Linked DNA regions of Homo sapiens: region 1 is linked to region 2. Evidence: promoter capture Hi-C in human tissues and cell types (Jung and others, 2019). All regions are on one chromosome and are shown on one strand. The core of a region is centred on a gene start or on the middle of the fragment in contact, and the rest is flanking DNA. Distances in the headings are between cores, read along the strand shown.

Region 1 (6,207 bases), core at 180-2,679, 120 kb before region 2:
GGAGTGAAAGCTGTTTGGAAAGTGGGTGAGGTTTAGGTAGGGCAGGGTTAGAGGAGAGGAAGAGAGAAGAAGGCGGGATGGGGAAAAGAACAGGTACCATGGGGTTCAAGGGCAGCGTTATGCTGCGGAAGGGTGGAGCCTGGGAACCCACAGTGATTGCAGAGCTACCCTTGGCCAGCTCTTGGACAAGCGCCTGGAGCTGAGGGATGCCTTCTCCTGTGATTGAACTCCTCTCACCACCATTCCCTATGGCCAAAAGCTGGTGGCCCACCAGGTGGGAGGCTGGGGGCCTCTCTAAGCCTCTGAGTTTGCCATGCGGGGAACACGTGTGCATATTTGTATGAACGTGAATGTGACTACTTTGGAAAAGCGCCCACCAGCAAGTCATTTTTTGAGCAGGATTCTTCCCATCGTGCCCCATTTCCTCCACACTGAGAAGAGACAGGAGTAGTGTGGGCTGGAGGTTGGCCAGACGTAGGGTCAAATCTCAGCTCTGCCATCTCCTGGCTGTGTGACCACGGGCAATTCACTTAACCTCTCTGAACCCCGCTGCCTCATGGAGAAATAGCAATCAGACTTCCCTTGCTAGGGTGTGTTGAGGAGTGAGAGACTGCATATGAGCCTCAGATTTGTTTTTATCCCCAGCTCAGCTCACTCCTCTTCCCAGTCCCCACCCCCACACAGACCTTTTCCTGGAGTCTTGGGGGTGGAGGAAGCAGAAACAGCCAAGCTTGAGGTGGGGGCCTACAGCCGCTGTCACAATTTCTTCTGAACCCCGAAGGGGAAGGCTGAGGACAAAGGCACCAGGGTAGATATTCCTAATTCTAAAAGCCCCCACATCCCTGAAGCCCCTAGCCAGTTCCATTCTGCCCCTGGAGTCCTCATCCAAGACCTGCTGCCCCCACCATCCACTCCCCATCCCAGCCTCCTTCATTTTCTCCACCCCCTACCCCCACCCCTTATGTATCCCAGAGCAGCATCAAATAACCACCCAGACAAGCAGCATGAGGTTAGCAGTTTGATATTATTATTAAGATCCAGCGGCAGCTGCTTTTCCACCTCAAAACCCTTTTAATGAGACACAACAGTTTCCATCATTGATAAAGATTTTACATCATTGGGGGGAGAGGTCACAGTTTTCTCCCCGACTACCCCAAAATACCCGCTTTGACTCTGTTGTTAATATTTCCACATCACTATCCAGAGGCTCCCCTCCAGGCACTGCCCTCTTCCAGAGAAACCCTCCAGGCCACAGAGAGGGCTGCTGGGGAGGGAATAGGGGAACCTTTTTGTTTTCACTGGGCTGGTCCCTGCAGATCTCTACAGAGCAACCCAAAAGCATAGTAAGTTCACCCCAAATTCCTTGGTCCCTACTGGGAAGAGGAGGCCAGGGGAAGAGGAACGCACAAAGAACCAGGCATGCTAAGACTCAACCTAAGCAACTCTCCAGTACTCTAGTGCTGCTGGGCTGGTGGTCGGGAGCGGGGAGAGGGGGTGCTGGAAGAGTGGGGAGGGGTAGGAGTCCAGCTCTCTGGCTTCACCTTGACCCAGAATCTTCTAACCACTAGGAGAATGAAAGATCCCAGAACCCCCTCCCCATACCCTCCAACGTCATTAGGGAATAGACAGCTATAGAATTCTACAAAAATATAAAAGCTTAGTCTGCAGATCCAGGTGACAGAACTCTAGGAATTTTGTACAGCTTTGCTTTTTTTATCTTAAATGGCAGCTCCTACAAGCACTCCCTCTCCCCACCCAAGGAGGCCAGAGGAAAAAGTTTGACATTATTGCACACCCTAAAAGGATAAAACCAGGCTTTGGCTTCAAGGAGCGGTATGAGTTCTGTCCAAAAGAGCAATGAGAAAAGCTCTCACCCAGCTTAGAAAACAATGCTGGACAACGCCTCCAGGTCCACTCGCCCGGCAGCCTGGTGCCCCCAGCTCCCAGTTGACCGGATCAGACGGTTTGTGAGCGAGCGTTGCCACTGAGGTTTCAAAAACCCAATCCAATCCTGGGGTTTGAAGGCCCTGGGGGCGAGGGGAGGGGGCTGTTCAAGGGAGTGGGATTGGGACAGATGTTTGGGAGGTGGCTAGGTGACAGGCTGGCTGGACCCATGGTCACCACCTCTTGGCACCAAGATTTCAGACAAGAGAATATTGTCTGCAGTAGCACCAGACAGGTGGCCTGGGCCACGCCACTCCCCCTCTTCCTGTCTGCCTGCCCCTGGCCACCTTCACACCTCCCTCCTCCACTGGCTCCCGCTAGGCAGGCAGCAGCAGCAGTGCATGTAAACATCTTGAGCGCTCGCTCATCACCGCCCAGGGGGCCAGCTCCCCACTCAGCACCTGGCCTCTGACCCTACCACCTCCACCAGGAGGTTGCCTCTGGACGCCCAGCCCTGGACTCTCATCCTCAGGAAGCACAGCCCACTCCGTTGACACGGTTTAATTCCATTGCGGGCAGGTGGACGAGGTCCCCATCGGACAGTGCCTGTAATGCCAGTCAGCTAAGCCCGCCCCCAAGGCAGGAGGCTGAAGTCCAGACAGCTCAGGTCACGCATCCAGCCAGAAGTGTGGCAAATCCGTGCTGAAGCTTCAGGAAGGAAAACCCAGAAACACTTCCCCCCTCCCCCACCAACCCACAGATCCAGATCTGCAGCCTCTGAGGCAACCTCCCCCAGCCTCAGTCGGCCCCATTAACCAAAACAGCTTCATTATGCCAATTTCCAGCTTTCAATGTGCGGCTGATAGCTGTCAGCAGAAATAAGAGTTAATCTGGAATTACTCCCATTCACTGAGCTGCCTAGCTAGAGGAAGCTGTAAAGCTTTGATAGCAGCAGAAGAGACCCTGCCTCCCCAGCCTGCACCAGGCGGAGGGGCTCCTCCTCTCCTTCACGGCTGGGGAGGGCAGGCTAGAGGTGCAGCCTTCCACAGCAAGGGGTTCAGGTTCTCTCACTCTCAGACACACACACTCTCACACTCATATACACACACGCACTCATATACACAAACACATACACACTCATACACACACAAAGAGGCAGCCCTGAAGCTTCCCTCCCCGCCGCCCACTCCCCATCTCCAGGATCTCTCTCTCATCAATGCCATCTGGACGTGCCTAACTCTCCATCCCTTTTGCTTTTACTCTGGACCGTGATTAGCTTTTTATTTAGGAAAATTACTTTATTTTATATATATATAGATAGATAGATAGATATGTATGTATGTATATATAAAAAGGTTCCATTTCACTTGTAAAATCTCATTTTTTCTTTTTCTTTTTTTTTTCCCTACAGAAAATGATGACGAGGTTAAAGGAAAAAATAAGTTACATTACAGTTTCCAAAATGGTTCTCGCTCTCCGCTGAAGATGGGCCACCGTTGGGGCTGCAATGTGCTCGCGGTCCCAGCTTGTGCTTTGCAAGAAGAGGGAATATAACTAGACTGTTATTTTAGGTTAAAATAGCCAAGAGACAGACGCCTTCGCCTCAAAAATATTCTGAGACACATAAAAGTAGAAGGAAACAAGTCTCTTCAGTCACAAAATGTCGTACATCCCGCATATACTAGATTCAATTAATTTAATAAAATAGAATATACATAGAGATTCTGCACAAACGTATTGCTTTCTCCCAACAGCTTCTGGTGTCGGGAACCTCAGCTGCACCGGGCCTCTCCTTCTGCCTGGAGCCAGAGTTGCCGGGGCTGCTGCTTTTAACTCTCTTTGGAAGTTCTGCTTGCAGGTACCCAGAGCCACTGAGGCAGGGAGGAGCGCCTCCGCCTCCTTGGTGTCTATATGGAACTTTTGTCAGGAATATAGCCCAGGAGGAGGAGCTAGGACTTGGCACCCAGTGGAGAAAGGTGAGTGGGAAAGTGGGGCAGGACTCAGGGGTCCAGGTCTGCTGGGTCAGAGGATAAACCGGAGAGACTCAGCACATCTTTCTTTGGGGAGGGCGAGGCAGCCATGCTGTCAGGGGGGCCAGAGGCCAAGGGATCCTTGGAGTCGCTGGACGGAGCCCTCCTCCGGAGGCAGATACCAGGGCTGGGCGGGGTCCGAGGACCTTGGCTCTCGGGGGGGTCTATGGTGATACTAGGCGGGCTGAGTTTTTTCTTGGGCCGGCTCCCAGGCCCCCCAAGAGGCTGGCCCCCAAGGTTAGAGGGGTCTGTGCCCAGGTGGGGTTGGGAGCCGCTGTCCAGGCAGCTGACGGCGATAGAGTGTCTCCTCTGCTCATCCAGCCAGGACGTAGGCCGGCGCTGGCAGCTCTGGGCCTCCACGCTGTAGCACTTCTTCAGGTCCCGTGGGGATGGGGGCTCCTCCTGGCCGCCAGGGGGCAGGAGGTCTCCTGAAATCCAGCTCAGCTCCGTGTCCAACTCTAAGCTGCTTCTGGTCTCTGGAGGGCCCTTGCCCCAGTTGGGTTCTGGGCCTGGGCAAGGGGCTGGCGGGGTCATGTGCTTGGAGATCTTGCTGTGGCTGCGGGAGTGCTGCTGTGCCTGGGTACTTGACTGGCCCCAGAAAGAGTAGGCCCGGGCCAGGGGCGGGGAGGGCCCACTCACCTCTGCCAGCAGGTCTTCCCGGCTGCCCAGACCCTGAACGTCCAAGGAGTCAGTCCTTATTGCTGCCTATATGGGGTGGGGGAGGGCTCAGCCCAGCAGTCTCCTCTCCAGCATGGACTAGCCCTCCTGTCAAGCTGGCTGTGCCCCCTGCCCACCACCACCAGGCACAGCAGGACTATCCTAAGCAGAGGTCCTGGTAGCCGCTCTTACTAGTAGATAGGGGTCATTGCAGCCTGACCTCTGTTGTCCACCATGCCTCCTCTCTCCCCACTAAACCCTGTCTTCCCTCCCCCATGCTCTGGTCTCCCCTAAGCCTGCAAGAATCGCTCTCTCTGCAGCCCCTGCCTCCTGGGATATGAGAGAAGCCAGGCCATCTCTGCTCACTGAGCTGGCTCCTTCACGCCTCCCCGCCTCTGCCTAGACTTCCCCTTTGGCTCTGAATACCCTTCCTGATTGGCAAGAATCCCTCGATTTTACGGACTCAGGTTCTCTGTGACACAGTGTGTGACAGTCTCTGTCCCCAAGTAAAACCGACCCCTTCCCCTTCTGTGTCCCTGCTGCCCTCCACACATAGGTGTCTGGCAGCTGTGAGCTGAGGCTGCAATGATCTGATGGCAGGCATGTCTCCACTATTAGACTGTGAGCTTCAGGGGGCAGGGGCTGTGTCGCCAGTGCCTGGCACACAGAGGCTGCTTAGTGACTATTTGCAGAATGAATAAGGACTGTGCCTGCTCCCCCAAGCATGTGGGATTGAGATTCTCATGTGTCCACGCTCATGCCTCAGGACACACACATGGCATGGGCTGTGGCCTTATCACAGGTGGGCTCTGGGGCCGGGCGCGGTGGCTCACGCCTGTAATCCCGGCACTTTGGGTGGCCGAGGCGGCCAGATCATCTGAGGTTGGGAGCTCGAGCTCAGCCTGACCAACATGGAGAAACCCCATCTCTACTAAAAATACAAAATTATCCAGGCATGGTGGCGCATGTCTGTAATCCCAGCTACTCGGGAGGCTGATGCAGGAGAATCACTTGAACCCAGGAGGCGGAGGTTGCGGGGAGCCAAGATTGTGCCATTGCACTCCAGCCTGGGCAACAAGAGCGAAACTCAAAAAAAAAAAAAAAAAAAAGAATCTGGGCTCTGGAAGGTGGGCCCTAGGCTTGGCCAAAAGTGAAGACACTTAAAACCTGCCTTGTGCCCCATAGCTCAGTCCAAAGTGGGGAGAAGAATTGGGAGGCAGCTCTGGTTGGTGAGGAAGGAAAGACCAGAGACTGGGGTTCTACCTCCGACCAGATAGGCATGACCCTGGGCAAGCACTACCCCTTCTGGTCTCCAGGCCTCCTCAGTGGAACAAGGAACTGGGTGCAAATTTCAAGAAGGCACAGACCACTTCTGCTTTGCCCAGTACTGTGTCCCTGGTATCTGCAACTGAGCCTGGCACATCACTGGCACACAATAAATATTTGCTGGAAGAATGAAAGTGTCAACACAGGTCATCACCAGCAGCAGAGGGTCCAGCCCCCAGGCCTGTGCCTGCCTTTCCACATCTGCTCACCTGGCGCCTGAGTGGCCTCTGAGCCAAAGGGGAGCGTCCTGGTGGGGGCAGTTTGGGGATGGTGCCCCAGGTTGGGGCGCTGTGGGGCTGGAGCAGATGAG
Region 2 (6,647 bases), core at 1-2,500:
CGCAGTGGTCCATGCCTGGAATCCTAGCAGTCTGTGAGGCCGAGGCAGGAGGATCGCTTGAGGCCAAGAATTTGACACTAGCTGGGGCAACACAGCGAGAGCCCTGTTTACAAACACACACACACACACACACACACACACACACACACACAGAAAAAAAAAGCTAAAAATTAAATTTAAAAATAAATAAATGGAAACAGCCAAAAAAGATCAAAAGGGGGTGGGTTGCAAGTGAGAACATGTCCATGGAAGTCAGTCCGCTATCAGACGCCCTGTGGCTCTCCCAGGTGCAACCAGAAGAAAGCTGTAGAGGGTAGGAAGCAGTCATATCTAGCGATTCTTTCCAGGCTAAAGGAGCTGGATAAGTGTCATCCAGCTGGAAAGTGCACGTGGTAGGAAAAGGCAGTCAAAAAGAGAACTAGCCAAGCAAGGCCTTTCTTCTGGGTTTTTCCAGCAGGAATCCTAAGTGACGCCTGCCCCGCTCCCCGACCCTCCTCTACCAAATAATCCCATCAAGGTGGCTGGTTTCAACACTTCATTCTTTCCTCTTCCCAAGGACCCCAATTCCTGGCCCTTCTACCCTTAAACTCTTTCCTGGCTCTTCTGCACTTCATCCAGTCCGGGGATCCTGCCTCCTGCATGCCACCCTAAGATGTGGTTAGAGGTAGCGCAAGGCCATCTCCCCAGCCAGTGGTCCCTGAGGCCCCTCTGTCAGTCTCCCACTTCCTATGTCCCCATCCCCAAGGCCCAGTGCGCTGTAGGCTCTTCCTGCCTTGCCCCCCATCCCTAAGGGTCCTATGCCCAGTACCCCACTTCCCCGTGATCTTTCCTCCATCCCTGGTGCCATCCCCATCCTCCAGGCCCCGTGTCCTGAACTCTTTCCGGGGACCGCTTCCCCTCTCGGGTTCTCCCGAGCGCCCAAGGCAGCCAGCGCCAACCTTTGACATTCTCTGAGGCCTCTAATAATCTGGTCGGAGTTATTCTGAGGCGGGAATCCTTCTTTAGAGACTTCATGGTGCCGCCCGGCACCATGAAACGTTGCCCTGCACCGCCGGCCCAGAGACACCGAGGCTGCGCCGCACCCGCCAGCCAACGGCCGCCACTGCGTCCACAGCAACCGGTGCCCCGCGCGGGGGCGCGCATCCACCGATCAACTTGGGCGGAGACGGCTTGGAAACCTCCTTCTTCATCGGGCCGCGCACGCGCCCGCCGCCGGCGGCTTCAAGAGCGACGGACCCCTAGAAAGCCCTGCGGGCCCGGCCTGTGACGCCACAGGCGGCGCCGACGAGCGCCGTGACGTCACCAGCCGGGCGGGGCGGGGCGGGGGACCCGGGCGAGGACCCCCGCGAGTTGCGGGAGCCGAGGGCTGGGTGGGAGTGGCTGGCTGGTAGGGGTGCATGACCCGCCTCGCCCCGCCCTGCTGCTAGGCCACGGGGGGCGGGTGGGGCGTCGGGGGTGCCAGCCCCTGCTTCCCGCCTTCCTCGACTAAGGCCACATCCTGTCGAGGGACCTCCCTCTGCCCCCCTCACAGCGGTTCTGGGGGGGGATCGGGCCTTTCAGGACGTGCTGAAACCCCTTCGTGGCGTACCGTAGGTTTTAGGTGTCCCTGCCTGCCGTCCCCAACTCGCACCAACGCGCCTGGAGACCTCCCGGGTCCACGCTCGCTGCAGCCACTTTGGCCTTTCATCACTTCCCAAACCAGCCAAAACTTTTGCCCTGACTTGGGGCATTCTCACAGTCCTTGGAGATGCTGCCTCTGATTATTTTAAGTTTATAAACGCACCCGCTTTTTTCGCCTTCCCCTGGAGCCCTGAGGCATTCTGGGATTATTTCGGTTTTTTGTGTAGTTGCCTATTGTCAAACTGGCTCTCAGAATGTATGAGAGCAGGAGCTGCCTCAGGCCCTGCCCCCAACCCAAAGTTTAGCACTAGTAGTCAGGCAGTAAATTGTACCTCAAATAGTGAAGGGGTTCTAGAGCCAGACAATTGGGTTCTAATCCCAGCTATGTCGGCTTGTTAGCTGTGTGTTCTTGAGCCAATGCCTTGACCTAGAGAGCCGGTTTTCTCTGCTGGGCACAGTGGTTCAGGCCTACAATCCTAGTGCTTTAGAAGGCTGAGGCAGGAGGATTGGTTGAGGCCAGGAGTTCAAAATTGACCTGAGCAACGTAGGGAGACTCCATTCTAAAAAAAAAAAAAAATTTTTTTTTTTTTTTTTTTGAGACGGAGTCTTGCTCTGTGCCCAAGCTGGAGTGTAGTGGTGCCATCTCGGCTCACTGCAACCTCTGCCTCCCAGGTTCAAGCGATTCTCCTGCCTCAGCCTCCTGAGTAGCTGGGATTACAGACGAGTGCCACCATGCCTGGCTAAGTTTTGTATTTTTAGTAGAGATGGGGTTTCACCAGTTGGTCAGGCTGGTCTCGAACTCCTGACCTCGTGATCTGCCCGCCTCGGCCTCCCAAAGTGCTAGGATTACAGGCGTGAGCCACCGTGCCTAGCCTAAAAAAATTTTTTTTTAATTAGCTGGCTTTGGTGGCCCACACCTGTAGTCTTAGCTACTCTGGAGGCTAAGGCAGGAAGATTGCTTGAGCCCAGGAGGTCCAGGCTGCAGTGAGCTCTGATTGCACCACTGTACTCCAGCCTGGGCAACAAAGTGAGATCCCCATCTCATACATCCATACATACATATATACATACATAAAATGGAGGTCATAATGCTGCTCTCACAAGGCCACTGCCAGGGTTAAATGAATATGTATGTATTTCTTTTTCTTAGCGAGTATCTCACTCTGTTGCCCAGGTTGGAGTGCAGTGGCACAATCATAGCTCACTGCAGCTTCAAACTCCTGAGCTTAAATGATCCTGCTGCCTTAGCCTTCCGAGTAGCTGGGACTACAGGCATGTGCCACTGCACCCAGCTAATTATTAAATTTTTTGTAGAGACAGGGTCTTGCTATGTTGTTCAGGCTGGTCTTGAACTCGTGGGCTTAAGCGATCCTCCCGCCTTGGCCTCTCAAAGTGTTGGGATTACAAGCATGAGCCACCTCACCTGGCCTGAGTGTGCATTTAAACTACGAAACAGGGTGCCCTCCATAAACTGTAGTATCTTCTCAGTCAATTCTCAAAATCATGCTGGGGTTGAAGGGAGGGGACACATTATAAGCCCATTTTACAAACGGAGAAACTGAGCTCCAGAGAGAAGGGTGTAATGTCACCTGACTAGCGGGAAGCACAAATTGAACCTGGTTTTCTAAAGTCCAAGGCCAGGGCTCTTTGAACCCTGTCTCCTGGGACATTTCTGAGTTTGCAAGAGCTGCCCCAGACAGCGGAGGAGCTAGAGACGATGCCAGCAGTGCTGGTGAATCCCTGAGTTCCCTGTGTGTTGCCCGTTGCTGGGTCCTGCTCCAGGGCCATGGCCCCTTCTTCACACTGCTCTAGACCTTGCTCTCCTTATGACTGAGGCATCCTCCACGGACAGCCCCTCTCCTGCTCTCCGAGGCCCAGGCTCTGGCTTCCCTCTACCCTCTAGAGAATCCCCAGTTCCGTTTACTTCGCGACTGAGCACTTATGATCCAGCAGGCTAGGTGCTGTGCCATGTGGGTCCTCCAGGAAGCAAGCACTGAGATGAACATAGGACCGCAAGAGGTTTATTGCGGAGAGAGGGGGTAGTGGCAAGGCCGGTGAGGGAGAGGAAGCAGGAAAGGGCTGGGAGAGCCTCAGACTGTGCTGCAGATCTAACAAAGTCTTGGCCAACCCAGCATGTCCTCTGGGCAAAGAATGTTTGTTAGAAGTTGTCAGCTAACTGCCCTCCTTGAGGGTGAATGGCAAGTTCTTTCTTGAAGGGAGACAGGAATGGCTCACCTCCGTGGCTGTCCCAGAAGCTCTGTAAGATATGGAGGAAAATAAGAAACATTTCCTCTTGCCCTCTAGGAGCTCAGAGTCCACTCTAGAGCAAAAGACAAACGCTCATGAAACTCTAATCCGTGCACCCAGTTTCAGGAAGAAGGCCTTTTAACTTTGGGAAGTTACACAGCTTGTGGGTGGCATGTTTGGGAGCAGGACAGAGGCTTGGGGATTGTGACGGGAGGGTTTGGTGACCAAAGGACAAGGGAAGAAGCAGGTAGGGGAGTATGTGGTCAGGCAGGCATGCAACCTGGCTGGGCTCTGCCACCAGCCCCTGAGTGACCTTGGACAGGTCTCACCCCCTGTCTGTGTCCCAGTATCACCATCTGCATCATGACATGAAGGGGTCCAGACCAGATCAGAGCTGCTTCACCTTTTGAGAAGCCAATCAAACCTAGGAATCTTCTCCTGAGAAACGTGCATTTGACTTTTTTTAAAACTGTTGTAAAATACACATAACATAAAAGTCACCATTTTAATATATTCAACTGAGTGACATTTAGTACACACACAATGTAGTGCCACCATCACCACTACCTACACTACCTACATCCAGAATGTTTTCATCATCCCCAAAGGAAACCCTCTACCAGTCATTCCCCAGCCCCGACCCCCATCCCCTAACAATCGCTAAGCTCCTTTCTGTCTTTACTGATTTGCCTATTCTTGATACTTCATATCAATGGAATCATACAATATTTGGCCTTTTCTGTCTGTTTTTTTTTTTTTCACTTAACACGTATCAGTGACTCCATTCCTTTTCGTGGCTGAATAATATTTCGTTTATGGGTATACTGTATTTTGTTTATCCATACATTTGCACATCTGATTTTGCACATGACTTTGTATTCAATTCCAGAGATTCCCTGAAGCTCACTGATGTGCGACTGGGGTGGGGGTAGAAGAAGGTCAGAGTGCTTTAGACACAAAGTGGGGTCATTTGAAAGTAGATTTCCAACTCTAATGTGTGAGCTCATGGGGTAGTCATTAGCTGCAATTTAGGAACCACAGACTGGATATGAGGGGGGCCTTCTTAGAGGAGGTAGCACTTCTTAGAGGAGGTGGGCCACTAAATAAAGAGTTCAATGGGTAGTTCAGGGGGCAGGTACTCCAGGTGAGGACACAGAAGGTACAAAGGCCTGGAGGGGGCTGGGCATGATGGCTTGTGCCTATAATCCCAACACTTCGGGAGGCTGAGGCAGGAGGATCACTTGAGCCCAGGAGTTTGAGACCAGCCCGGGCAACATAGTGAGACCCCGTCTCTACAAAAAAATTTCTAAAAATTAGCCAGATGTGGTGCCATGCCCTTGTGGTCCTAGCTACTCAAGAGAGTGAGGTGGATGCATTGCTTGAGCCTGGGAGGTCGAGGCTGCAGTGAGCTGTGATTGCGCCACTGCACTTCAGCCTAGGGTGACAGAGCAAGACTCTGTCTCAAAAAAAAAAAAAAAAAAAAAAGCCCAGTGTGTGTAAAGCACAAGCTCAGATGACAGCATCGCTTCACCAGCATAGCTCCCGCAGTCTCCTCCCAGCGCCACAACTCTGAGCAACTTCCTGGAGCCCAGGGAGGAGGAGGTGGTGGCTAGGTTGACAGAGGACACGGCATAAATTATTGCTTCATGTCTCTGTTTATTTCCACCCATCCAGGTGCTGAGCATGTCGTCAGCTACTCCTAAACAGCCTCCCTAAATAGAAAGCGCATTTCCTCCACAGACCGCATCATCCATTTCCCAGGGACAGCCACCCTCCTAAAGACTGAGGCTCGGGGTCATCTATTCTCCAGCCCCTCACATCTGATCCCCCTCCCGGTTCATCCTGCCACTCTGTCTCACTTTCGCATACCCACCTGGCCTGCTCCCCTATTGTTTCCATTGTGCCTCCCCAACCAGGTCTGACCACCCCCACACATAGCTGGCTGATGCCCCTCACATCTGCCCTCACCCACTCACATCTGGCAGCTGCACCCCTTAAACAATGCATCACATCACTGCCCTCCTTACTACAACCTTGCTCAGCTCACACTCAGCAGGAATCTCACATTCTTCTTAGCCCCAAACACAGGACACAGCTGGACTCTGCTCCCAGAATGGACTGACTTCAGCTTCAGGGATGACACAGAGACTCTGGGACCTTCTTAGGAAGGACACAAGGAGGGATTTTCAGAGGCTTTGGAGTACAGTGTGTGTTTGCTTCTCAACTTTGCCCCCACTTGGGCTGTCTGCTTTAGAGTGGGGACAGTGAACTAGGCATGGTGGCTCACACATGCAATCCCAGCACTTTGGAAGGTCAAAGCAGAAGGATCACTTGAGCCCAGGAGCTTGACACCAGCCTGGGCCACATAGTAAGACCCCGTCTGTACTAAAAATAAACATTTTGAAAATTAGCCGGGTGTGGTGTTTGTGTGTGTCTGGAGTCCTAGTTACTCAGGAGGCTGAAGCAGGGGGCTTGCTTGGAGCCCAGGAGATCAAGGCTGCAGTAAGCTATGATTGCACCACTGCACTCCAGCCTGAGTGACAGAACGAGACCCTGCTTCAAAAAAACCCAAAGAAACAAAAATAGAGTGATAGACTGGGGACAGTGCCTGTCTCACAAGGTCACAGTCACCTTCTATTGCCTCATCCTTTTTGTCATCCTCAGAACTCCTACACATACACTTCTGTGGGATCTGTCTGCCCCGCTAAAGCACAAGTTCCAGAGGTGCAGGAGCCTATCTGTCGGCTTCATGGCTGTGTCCCCCATTCCTGGCTGGCACA

Evidence for each region. The method cuts DNA at HindIII sites, captures the fragments that hold promoters and counts their contacts. A contact is called where the count stands out against the background at its distance.
Region 1: a contact is called between a fragment that was not itself captured here and the fragment with the promoter of MYCBPAP in region 2, in 10 of the 25 tissues and cell types used here (H1 embryonic stem cells, IMR-90 fibroblasts, bladder and 7 more).

The regions. Positions count from the first base shown.
Region 1 is chr17:50,624,429-50,630,635 of GRCh38, reverse strand. It overlaps LOC101927253 (a long non-coding RNA gene), which reads left to right. Exons shown (of 2, transcript XR_243718.2): 2 at 3,296-3,606. CACNA1G (calcium voltage-gated channel subunit alpha1 G) reads right to left here. Exons shown (of 38, transcript NM_018896.5): 37 at 6,107-6,207; 38 at 3,162-4,619. The coding sequence ends at 3,885. Among named protein-coding and RNA genes, the nearest start is that of ABCC3, 7.3 kb to the left of the region's middle. RefSeq lists an enhancer at 4,315-5,087. The HindIII fragment of the contact is 3,018 bases long and covers 1-2,938 here.
Region 2 is chr17:50,503,042-50,509,688 of GRCh38, reverse strand. It overlaps MYCBPAP (MYCBP associated protein), which reads right to left and starts at 1,250. Exons shown (of 19, transcript NM_032133.6): 1 at 939-1,250. The coding sequence starts at 1,014. RefSeq lists enhancers at 1,025-1,154, 1,175-1,234 and a silencer at 1,255-1,544. The HindIII fragment of the contact is 18,604 bases long and covers 1-6,647 here.